2 separate regions of the Homo sapiens genome follow, and region 1 is linked to region 2. Evidence: promoter capture Hi-C in human tissues and cell types (Jung and others, 2019). All regions are on one chromosome and are shown on one strand. Each heading gives the region's core, a stretch centred on a gene start or on the middle of the fragment in contact. The rest is flanking DNA. Distances are from core to core; before and after follow the strand shown. Region 1 overlaps TEKT1 (tektin 1). Region 2 holds the start of XAF1 (XIAP associated factor 1).

What was found. Contacts are between HindIII fragments. The study calls those that stand out against the background at their distance.
Region 1: a fragment that was not itself captured here is called in contact with the fragment with the promoter of XAF1 in region 2 in 1 of the 25 tissues and cell types used here (bladder).

What each region holds. Positions count from the first base shown.
Region 1 is chr17:6,813,997-6,820,182 of GRCh38, reverse strand. TEKT1 (tektin 1) reads left to right here. Exons shown (of 8, transcript NM_053285.2): 3 at 825-990; 4 at 4,221-4,349; 5 at 4,877-5,020. Among named protein-coding and RNA genes, the nearest start is that of TEKT1, 15 kb to the left of the region's middle. The HindIII fragment of the contact is 6,754 bases long and covers 1-4,830 here.
Region 2 is chr17:6,753,460-6,758,822 of GRCh38, reverse strand. It overlaps XAF1 (XIAP associated factor 1), which reads right to left and starts at 2,777. Exons shown (of 7, transcript NM_017523.5): 1 at 2,713-2,777; 2 at 599-734. The coding sequence starts at 2,744. RefSeq lists an enhancer at 2,601-3,120. The HindIII fragment of the contact is 6,790 bases long and covers 823-5,363 here.

The DNA of each region.
Region 1 (6,186 bases), core at 204-2,703, 63 kb before region 2:
CAAAATGTAAATAAATAGTAAGTTTACTTATTTATTGTTTAACAAAATGGTGATACAACTATATTGGGAGACGGAAGTATGTTGTGTGAGTTGGTTAAGAGCAAATCATTATCTTTCATCACAGGAAATCAACATATAATATCAAAACTGATAATGAGTGAATAGCAGTATAAGCAAATGTCAGAAGTGATAAGGGGCCTGGCGCAGTGGCTGACACCTGTAATCCCAGCACTTTGGGAGGCCGAGGCAGGCGGATCACGAGGTCAGGAGATCGAGACCATCCTGGCTAACATGGTGAAACCCAGTCTCTACTAAAAAATACAAAAAATTAGCCGGGTGTGGTGGCGGATGCCTGTAGTCACAGCTACTCGGGAGGTTGAGACAGGAGAATGGCATGAACCTGGGAGGCAGAGCTTGCAGTGAGCAGAGATTGCACCACTGCACTCCAGCCTGGGTGACACAGTGAGACTCCGTCTCAAATGGATGGGGACAGGTCAGAGAGTTTTAATTCTTTGTGATACTATTTGACTTTTCTAACAACACACATTTATATCTTTGATAAAATTAAAAGTTATTAAAAACAGTGGGCACTGAAGAACTAGTGGGTGTAGAATGATAAATCTGATGTGGACTGTAAGAAAATATATCTTCCTTCCTTCCTGCAAATAAACATTTAAAAAGATGAAAAGATGCCCCAAATAGCACAGCACTAAGAGGAAAAGAGCATGTCACAGGTGGTTTTACAACAGTCTTCAAGTTTCTAATTCAAATGTTGGCTACCTTGGGATAGATTAGCCCTGGTGTAACTTCCCCGTGTGCTTCAGAACAGAGACTCGAGGAAGTCCAGTTCTGGAAGAAGGAGTTAGATGACAAACTTGAGCAGCTTGTGAATGTAACTGATGATCTACTCATATATAAGATCAGATTGGAAAAAGCCCTGGAGACCTTGAAAGAGCCCTTGCACATCACTGAGACATGCCTGGCATACAGGTAGGAGCGAAGGTCCCTCAAATGATTCATGTGTTGTGACAAATGAGATGCTGGGTAGTAAATGCCGGCTGTGTGCGATGGTGAGTTAGAACACAGCACTTGAGCAGGTGTTCTTTTAGAGCCTGAAGTTATCCCAGCATGCCCCTGGTGCTGGGCAGTGCAAGGGGCACTGGACTTGGTTCATGCCTCAACTCTGCTCTTGACTAACTCAACTCAAATATGTTAGGACTAGGTTTGGCTGTGGGTAGCAGAAAACTTTAAAATAATATTGAATTTAAAGAAAACGATTTCTTTCTCTCTTACATTCAAAGAGTCTAGAGATAGTCAGTCCAGGGTTGGAATGGTGGGCCACAGTTTTAGGGTTCCAGGCTTTTTCTATCTTCTTGTTCTACTGCACATGGCTTTCACTCCTAATGTTACCTTGTGGTTTAAGTTGGCAGCTGGAGCTCCAGCCATTATGTCTACATTCCAGCAAGTAGGAGTAAGTGGGGTCTGGCATTCATCATTTCTATTTGCATCCTATTGACAGAACTTAATCACATGGCCACACCAACAGATGCTGGGAAATGATTGGTTTTACTTTGGGCAGCCAGGTGCTCAGCCAAAAAACCAGGGGTTCTGTTGCCAAGGAAGAAGGTGAGAACAGACACTACAGCTCCCAGGGGACAGTATGTCTCTCCCATGCAGAGCCACACGGAAGCACTTTGTAATCCAGACAGCACTATAGGAACATAGTGCTTTTTATTATTATTTCCCTCCTATAAATCCAGTGAATAGAATGATCCTTTCTACTCTGGGGTGATGCTGGTTTCCAGACCTGGGTTCTGCCGCAGACCTAGCTGGAGTGCCCTAACAGGTCTTCTTGCTGTTAGCATAGTCCCCTATAATCTAGTGCACCCTGCACACTGGCTGTTGAGTGAACTTTTCCAAATGCAGATTTTTCCCGGTCACCGCCATGCTTAGAATCCTTCAAACCCCAATGGCTTCAAGATAAATTTTAAGCTTCTTAGCTTAGCAAACCAAGGTTCATCATGATAGGGCCCCCAGTGACCTCTCTGGATCCATATCTTGTCCCCAGTAGTGGGATGTGCTTAGGTGTGTGGAGCTACTTGCAGTTTCTCAAATGCACCATGCCCCTGTCTTCCTGGAAAGCCCTGTTCCTTCCATAAGCTTAAACAGGACCCGTTGCAGGAACCAGGCAGCAGTCTCCCCAGCCAGATTTAGAAATCTATGAAGCAAAGAGAAATAGCAGCTCATCAAAGAGCTCAACACCCAGTTGGCTCAAGTCTAAGCCTGAGGATAATGATAACGTAGAGGCTGCTAAGTTTACTGAGCATGTACTATGTGCCAGGTACTGTAGCTTATGCTTTTATAGCTCATTTGTAGTGTGCCACAATCCTATGAAGTACTAATAATTACCCCCATTTTACAGAAAAGGAAACCAAGGCACAGGTAGGTTATATAGTGGCTAAGGGCACCCAGCTAGTGAGTAGGGGAACCTCCTTTCCAAGCACTATCATGCAGGTTGAAAAAGAGCAAAACGTTGTGTAGCAGGGTCAGTTTGGGAGGAGGATGGCATCTTGGCTAGAAGCACATGTGGCACACAGTTCTGTGACACTGGGTAGATCACTTAGTCTCTCTGAAACTCAGTTTCCCCATCTGTACTTGAAAGGGCTAAGAAAGAATGTTTATATATTAATAAAGCTCAGCACAATGCCTGTCATGGAGTAAGTGCTCACTGGCAGAGGCAATATTACTATTGGTGTTATTATTATTAATAGTTATTATTACTATAAACATCTTTTAAAATTTTTTTTGAGATGGAGTTTCGCTCTTGTTGCCCAGGCTGGAGTGGAATGGTGCAATCTCGGCCCACCGAAACCTCCACCTCCCGGGTTCAAATGATTCTCCTGCCTCAGCCTCCTGAGTAGCTAGGATTACAGGCATGCACCACCACTCTTGGCTAATTTTGTGTTTTTAGTAGAGACGGGGTTTCTCCATGTTGGCCAGGCTGGTCTCCAACTCCCGACCTCAGGCGATCCACCTGCCTCAGCCTCCCAAAATGCTGGGATTACAGGCGTGAGTCACTGCGCCCACCCTAAAACATCTTTCTATGTTCAATTGTTTGTCTAAACACTGAATGAGGATCAAGGAAGGAAACAAGTCTTTGAATTTATTATTATTATTTAAAACTTTCCTCTTCTTGGGAAAAAAAGTCCATCTGGCTGCAAATCAAAACCACAATGAGATACCATCTCATGCTAGTTAGAATGGCAACCATTAAAAAGTCAGGAAACAACAGATGCTGGAGAGGATGTGGAGAAATAGGAATGCTTTTACACTGTTGGTGGGAGGGTAAATTAGTGCAACCATTGTGGAAGACAGTGTGGTGATTCCTCAAGGATCTAGAACTAGAATTACCATTTGACCCAGCAATCCCATTACTGGGTATATACCCAAAGGATTATAAATCATGCTACTATAAAGACATATGCACACGTTTGTTTATTGTGGCACTATTCACAATAGCAAAGACTTGGAACCAACCCAAATGTCCATCAGTAATAGACTAGATTAAGAAAATGTGGCACATATACACCATGGAATACTATGCAGCCATAAAAAAGGAAGAGTTCATGTCCTTTGCAGGGACATGGATGCAGCTGGAGACCATCATTCTGCGCAAACTATCACAAGGACAGAAAACCAAACACTGCATGTTCTCACTCATAGGTGGGAATTGAACAATGAGAACACTTAGACAAAGGGCAGGGAACATCACACACCGGGGCCTGTCAGGGTGTGGGGGGCTGGGGGAGGGATAGCATTAGGAGAAATACATAATATAAATGATGAGTTGATGGGTGCAGCAAACCAATGTGGCACATGTATACCTATGTATCAAACCTGCACGTTGTGCACATGTACCCTAGAACTTAAAGTATAATTTAAAAAAAATACAAAGAAAAGAAAAAGAGAGAGAGAAAAAAAAGTCCATTTGGCATGTTTCAGACCAAGTGACCAGTCATCAATCAATTTTTCTTCATTGTGTTTGGATATTTTGAAGTCACATAGACACCAACTAATATCTGTCACCCACTGTGTCATCGGATGGATCGGGTGACACTCAAATCAGTCGTGCAGATAGTTCTGAGTGTGCAGCCATTAGCCAATGTTGAGTCACCTCATGTTGCACGTGTTGGCTGACTGGCTGCCTTTCCCCCTGCCAGGGAGAAGCGCATTGGCATTGACCTGGTGCACGACACAGTGGAGCATGAGCTGATAAAGGAGGCTGAGATCATCCAGGGCATTATGGCTCTGCTGACCCGTACCTTGGAGGAGGCTTCCGAGCAGATTCGGTATGACTCTTCGGCCTGCCCTCCAAATCTCCACTGGGAATTTTGAGAAAAGGCAGTGTCCACAAAAGCTGGGCTCCATGGCACAGAAAGAAAGGGGTTCAACATTCCCGCTCCCACTTTGTGTCCCCAGATTGCCCCAGCACTCAGGGTAAGAGCTGGCCACATCCCTCATACATGGCAGCCGCCCTCTGGTAAGGGTGGGGCTGGAGCTGGATTTCACCCTGGTTATAAACTGGAGGACGCTGGAACCCACTGGTGAGGCTGACCCCTCACACATAGTAGGCTGCAATGGTGACACTGGAAAATGTAACAGTAGAAGGGAGAATCTCCAAGTCCACATTTGGTTACGTTGATTTGTCACCGGGCATCAAATGGTATACGCATGAGTGTTGGGGTGATGGGTGGGGGGCAGTACCATCATCCTGCACCAGACCTAGCTGCAGCTTCACTTTCCAGGACCTCTCTGAGGACGTGGGTGCCACCTGGGCACTCCAGAGGCAGAAACCCAGTTTACTTTCTCCCTTCAGGATGAACCGCTCTGCCAAGTACAATCTTGAGAAGGATTTGAAGGACAAGTTTGTGGCCCTGACCATAGATGATATCTGCTTCTCGCTCAACAACAACTCACCAAACATCAGATATTCTGAGAACGCCGTGAGGATTGAGCCAAAGTGAGTGGGCCTTGCCGTCTTCCTCCTCGCGGGTGACCCAGTGCTTCTCAGATAGGCAAGACCTAGCGGCTCGTCCTTGCAGCTGGCTGAGAGCTTGGAAGTGGTGGGCTTGGGGCAAAGGCAGCATTGAATGGTGACCTTGACATTGGGCCCAGAGGCTCCTGATTCTCCAGGTTAGGCTCACTAACTAAGAAAGTCTGACATAAAACCTTTAAACCTTTAAAGAATAAAACATTTTATTCCTTCATCTATACATGTTTTTAACAAGTAAAATAATCTAAAAATGTAGGAAGAGCAAGTGAATTTCCCCCCCCCTTTTTTTTTTGAGACAGAGTCTTGCTCTGTCACTTAGGCTGGAGTGCAGTGGCGCGATCTCACCTCACTGCAAGCTCCGTCTCCCGGGTTCACGCCATTCTCCTGTCTCAGCCTCCCAAGTAGCTGGGACTACAGGCGCCCGCCACCATGCCTGGCTAATTTTTTGTATTTTTAGTAGAGATGGGGTTTCACCAAGTTAGCCAGGATGGTCTCAATCTCCTGACCTCGTGATCTGCCCGCCTCGGCCTCCCAAAGTGCTGGGATTACAGGCGTGAGCCACCGCCCCTGGCCTCCCCTTTCTGTTTTTACATCCACTGAGATAACTGGTGTTAGCTGCATGTTCATACAAACATATGTACATGTGCACTCACACACATACGGTAAACTTTGTTTAGTTTATAAAAATGAGATTATACTATGTACCTTTTCTGTGACATCTAATTTGCATTTTTCGGTTAACATTATATCACAGCCTAACTCACTTTAATTTTTAAAACCTTCTTTTTGAAATAAAACATACATATAGAAAAGTGCACAAGTTTGAAGCATTCTCATTGTGTTAGTTATCTTTTGCTGTATACTAAATTATCCCAAAACTTTGCAGCTTAAGACAATAAACATGTATTATCTCATGGTTCCTTGGGTGGGGAAACCAGGCCCTGTTCAACTGGGTGCCCCAGGCTTGATGTCTTCTGAGGCTGTAGTCAAGCCAGCTGCTGGGGTTGCAATCCATCTGAAGGCTTGACCCGGGTGGGGTCCAATTCCAAGCTGATTGTGGGTGATGGTGGGCCTTGGTTCCTTGCCTTGTGAATTTCACCATGGGGATGTCCCATGACATGGCAACTGGTTTC
Region 2 (5,363 bases), core at 1,528-4,027:
TCTCACCTGCAGGGAGGACTGAACACTCTCCTTGACTCCCAGACCCCATCTCACCTGCAGGGAGGACTAGACCCTCGTCCCCCAACTCTCAGACCCCATCTCTCCTGCAGGGAGGACTGGACCCACTCTGTGACTCCCAGACCCCATCTCTCCTGCAGGGAAGATGGAACACTTGCCCCTCCCAGACCCCATCTCACCTGCAGGGAGGACTGAACACTCGCCTTGACTCCCAGACCCCATCTCACCTGCAGAGAGGACTGAACACTCGCCTTGACTCTCAGACCCCATCTGTCCTGCAGAGAGGACTGAACACTCGCCTTGACTCCCAGACCCCATCTCACCTGCAGAGAGGACTGAACACTTGCCTTGACTCTCAGACCCCATCTCACCTGCAGAGAGGACTGAACACTCGCCTTGACTCTCAGACCCCATCTCTCCTGCAGAGAGGACTGAACACTTGCCTTGACTCCCAGACCCCATCTCACCTGCAGGGAGGACTAGACCCTCGTCCCCCAACTCTCAGACCCCATCTCACCTGCAGGGAGGACTGAACACTCACCTTGACTCTCAGACCCCATCCTCCCTGCCGCCTCCTCACCTGCTGGTGCTCAAGCTTGCAGTGCTCCTCCATGGTTTCCTTGGGGACAGGCTCCTCACACTCCGGACACAGGACCAGGAACCGCAGGCAGTAAGCCTCATGGAGGGTGAAGTTGGCAGAGACTACATGTCTTTTACTACAGGGTCAAGGTGTGGGGATAGAAAAATAGACTTATTTTCATATTATAAAACATGGAGCTGTATTTCATACCCAGGGCTAGATCTCCAGAGGCCTTAAGCACTGAACATGTGATGATGATGACACCACCTGCCCCACACTCCCTGTGTGGGTCCAAAAGTCAGAACAGTGAGGCAGCATCTAATAAGAATAAGGATGATCTACAGAGCTCTTACATTGCTGGGGCAGGGCATGGGAAGGAGCAGGAGGGAGGAATTACAAAGGGGCATGGGGAGCTTTTGGGGTGACAGGAAGCTTCATTATCTCAATTACGGGGATGGTGTTTCATGGATGTATATAACTTAGGCCAAAACTTATCAATTGCTACCCTTTAAAATGTGAGGTTTATTGTAGGTCAATTATACCTCTATAAGGCTGTTTTTAAAATGAAACATTTCATTTTAAATAATGTAAATAATTAAATTATTTCAATTTAAATAATTTGAGAGAAGTGCCAAATTCTCTTGAATCTTTTTTCTTGTTTTCTGGTGCCCCTGTTTGGTCCACAGTGTTAGGAACGCAGCCCTGCTAGGCTCACGCTTCCTGCCAGGGCCATGCCAACTTCCAAAATCTCCAAAGCGAGAGCTTCCCAAGTCTCCCCTGCCTTCAGGTTCACCTGCGCTAACTCACAGAGACTCCGAGGTTCTTCCTGGAGACCACAGTGAAGGAAGGGTTCTGAGCCTCCCACTTCCTGGGCAGGGCATTTTTCTCTAACCGTCCTTTTTGCCAAGAAGTGCCCCCTTTTGGCTGGGTGTGGTGGCTCATGCCTGTAATCCCAGCACTTTGGGAGGCCGAGGCGGGTGGATCACCTGAGGTCAGGAGTTAGAGATCAGCCTGGCCAACATGGTGAAACCTCATCTCTACTAAAACAATACAAAATTAGCCGGGCATGGCGGTGCACGCCTGTAATCCCAACTACTCGGGAGGCTGAGGCAGGAGAATCACTTGAACCCGAGAGATGAAGGTTGCAGTGAGCTGAAATCGCGCCATTGCACTCCAGGCACTCCAGCCTGGGCAAAAAGAAGCGAAACTCCATCTTAAAAAAAAAAAAAAAAGAAGAAGAAAGAAAGAAATGACTCCTTTCATTTCCATCAGCTCTTGCTTGTGGCAGCTTGGGAGAAGGGAAATGGGGTGGCTGTAGCCGTAAAGGCCCAGGGGACGAGAAGAGTTACATGCCCATGTTCCTGGCACAGGGGACGTGCTCCGAGAGGGACTGTCAAAGCCTCACTCCTCTTCTGCCCAGGCAGCGGGCACACAGGCAGCATCATCTTCCCTTCCTCTGCTCTCTCTCCTCTGCCTGACCTGGCCCCTTCTCCCCCTGCTCTTCCTGGGCTGGTTGAGAAACCAGAGTACTTGAAGGGTCTGGCTGGAGCAAAGCTCTCTGGGGAGGGTCCACTCAGGTCCCTGTCACAGGTAGGGAGCTTTGAGAATGGGGCTTTTTGATCGGTCAGATTCCGCGCCCCCCCTCCCGTTAGAGGTGTGGTCCCAGCCCCCTGCTCTGTCCCCCCTGCCCCGCCCCACGGCTCCCTTTCCAAGGAGGGTGAGAGTAGTCCTGGAGAATCTCCGTGGGACACTTTCTTTCACAGATGGGTGTGAAGGTCATAGTATCAGAACCCCAAATTAGGACCCAAGGTCTCACAAGTATGAGTAGCCCAGTTGGGACCACTGGCCGGGCTATTTGGCTTCAGAACTGTCCCAGAAAGCCTAACATTTGGGGGAAAGGGGCTGCAGTGAAGTGGAGGTAATGCTGCCCACCCCCACCCAGAGATTACCAAGTTTAAACCCTCCTACCCTTGGGGCCCACGGTCTCCAGCTGCTTGTCCTCCTAAGTGTTCTTATGCAGGAACCACTTTCTGCTCCCTTCAGAAACAGCCCTATGTCGTCTACGTCTCTCCCTCGCCAGCCCGGGTCTGCCGCTGGAGAAAGCACTTTCTTACCAGTTCCTGCACACCGAGAAGTCTCCTTCCATGTTCTGCTCTCTGCAGGCTTTCGGTTGAGTTTCGTTTCTTGCAGGCAAGGAAACAAAACTGAAAGTTTTCCGATGGCCCAGCCCACAGCTTCAGGGAGGGAGGAGATCTTCAGAATTCTCGGCTCAGGAGTTCCCCTTGATTCCTGAGGCTGGACCCTCCCAAGAAGCCCCTTTACAGCATGGCCAGCCCCTGCTGTCGCCCTTGGCCGTCATTCTTTGCTGCTGTCACAGCCGCATCTACCTCCCTGAGGCTGGCAGCCTGAGGCCAGGCCTCTCCTGGGCAGCACAGCAGCTTGTTCCCTCACCCTGGCTGGCTGGCTTCTCTCCGTCTGGGTCTCCATCCCTTTTCCAAACCATCCACCTCCCACCCTTCTCCCCCATCTCCGGCTCCCTTCTGGTCCTCCCCTGCAGGAAAGAGGGAACTTGCCATGTTGAGCTTGAATGCTGTTCCCTAAAAATGGCTCCTGGACTTCCAGGCGGTGAGGACCTTGCAAACAGCGTCCAGGGAGGCTCTGGGGATGCAGGGTGGTGTGAGCCCAGACCCAATCTGGTGTGTATCCTCCTGGGGGTCCTTAGAGTTTTTCCAGACCCTAGAAACAGCTGTGCTAACAGAAGAACTCTAAACAACATCTGGAGTGATGACAAGCAGGCCCAGAGAATTCCCGTGGCGTCTGCCAATGGGGTGGGTGCCGCCTCTCTGAGGAGGATAACAAGATTAAGGGAAATGTCCAGGCAGGGCTCCAGCCTCCAGGCAGGCTCTAAAATTCAGGCACTAAATGAGAAGCAGTGTGTGGTGGTACTGATGATCACAGTGATAGGAGGGAAGAATGAAAGACTGTTTCAACATTGTTCCTATGTTCCAGGCACCATTCTAAGCATTAGGTAGGCATTGTCTTCGTTTTAATCCCTCATGTAAGCATTATTAACTCCATTTTGCTATGGAAAACAGAGGCAGTGACAGAGTGAGACTCTGCCTCAAAAAAGAAAAATGAAATGAAAAAAGAGAAAATGGAGGCAGAGAGAGGCTAGGCCAATCGCTCAACATCAGAGCTGGGATTCACACCAGGTTGATATGACTCAGGTGTCTATGTACCTAACCAAGGCCCCATCCACCTCATTTGACAGCTAGTTGGGGTAGTGAGCACTTGGCTGAGAGTCAGAGACTGAGGTTTGCATCTTATCTTGTTCCCTTCCTCATCGGCTAGGCAAGCTCCTTAATCCTTCTGACCCTCACTACCCACTCCTGTCTGTCTCTGGGCAGTCTGTCAATATCAAGAATGAAAAACGAGTGGGCTTGGCTTGGTGGCTCATGCCTGTAATCCCAGCACTTTGGGAGGCCGAGGTGGGCGGATCACGAGGTCAGGAGTTCGAGACCAGCCCGACGAACATGGTGAAACCCCGTCTCTACTAAAAATACAAAAATTAGCTGGGTATGGTAGTGCTTGCCTATAATCCCAGCTACTCAGGAGGCTGAGGCAGGAGAATTGCTTGAACCCAGGAGGTGGAGGTTGCAGTGAGCCGAGATTGCACCACTGCACTCCAGCCTGGGCAACAGAACGAGACTCTGTCTCAAAAAAAAAAAAAAAAAAAAAGGGCTGTGCGCGGTGGCTCATGCCTGTAATCCCAGCCCTTTGAGAGGCCGAGGCGGGTTGATTATGAGGTCAGGAGATTGAGACCATCCTGGCCAACACAGTGAAACCCCGTCTCTGCTAAAAACTACAAAAAATTAGCCGGGCGAGGTGGCGGGTGCCTGTAGTCCCAGCTACTCGGGAGGCTAAGGCAGGAGAATGGCGTGAACCCAGGGTGGAGCCTGCAGTGAGCCGAGATCGCGCCACTGCACTCCAGCCTGGGCGACAGAGCGAGACTCTGTTACAAAAAAAAAAAAAAGAAAGAAAGACAGGAAGAAAGAAATGGAAAAGAAGGAAAAATGAAGAACTTTCTTTTCACATATTGTCTCCTGCTGAGATGGGATAGGGGTGGTGGCAGGGGTGTATAGATTGGACACCTTAGAGGAATGGAATGTGTGGCCAGGGGATAGGAGTGGAATTAGAAGTGACCATAAGTTGCTTCTCATCTACATCCTAATTTTCTTCCAAGATGTTTCCTCCTATAGACTGTCCCACCCACGCCAACCCTTCCCTTCCTCATCAAAATCCCAGCAGTTCTTCAGGACCAACTCCTATGCCAACACTGATCTAGAATCTACCTCCTTTGTCTCTGGCTTTGGTTAGTTGGCTGTGTGTCTATTGTCTCAACTCCTCCCCATCCAATCACAGGCATGGGCGATTTGAGAGCCAGCTCTTTCTGACCCACCACCCCTGCCTTCCTGGAGAGACCCGCGGGCTTTGTGCTTATTAGGCAGAGTGCAGTATTGAGCTTCGCAGTAGCAGGCAGTCAAATGCTGGCTGACCCGAATGGATGGGGTGTTTTGAGATAATTAAGCAGGGAGTTGGAAATCTCCCCCAACCCACACAACACCCCTGAGTCGGAGGGCTCTCAAAGTGGCAGCAATGGCCATTTTCTTTTCATTTCTCAAGATAACTTAGATTTCATAAAGAATATATGAATATACACTCTTTAAAAAAATGGAATGTTACAAATACAGCAATGTTTCTCTTT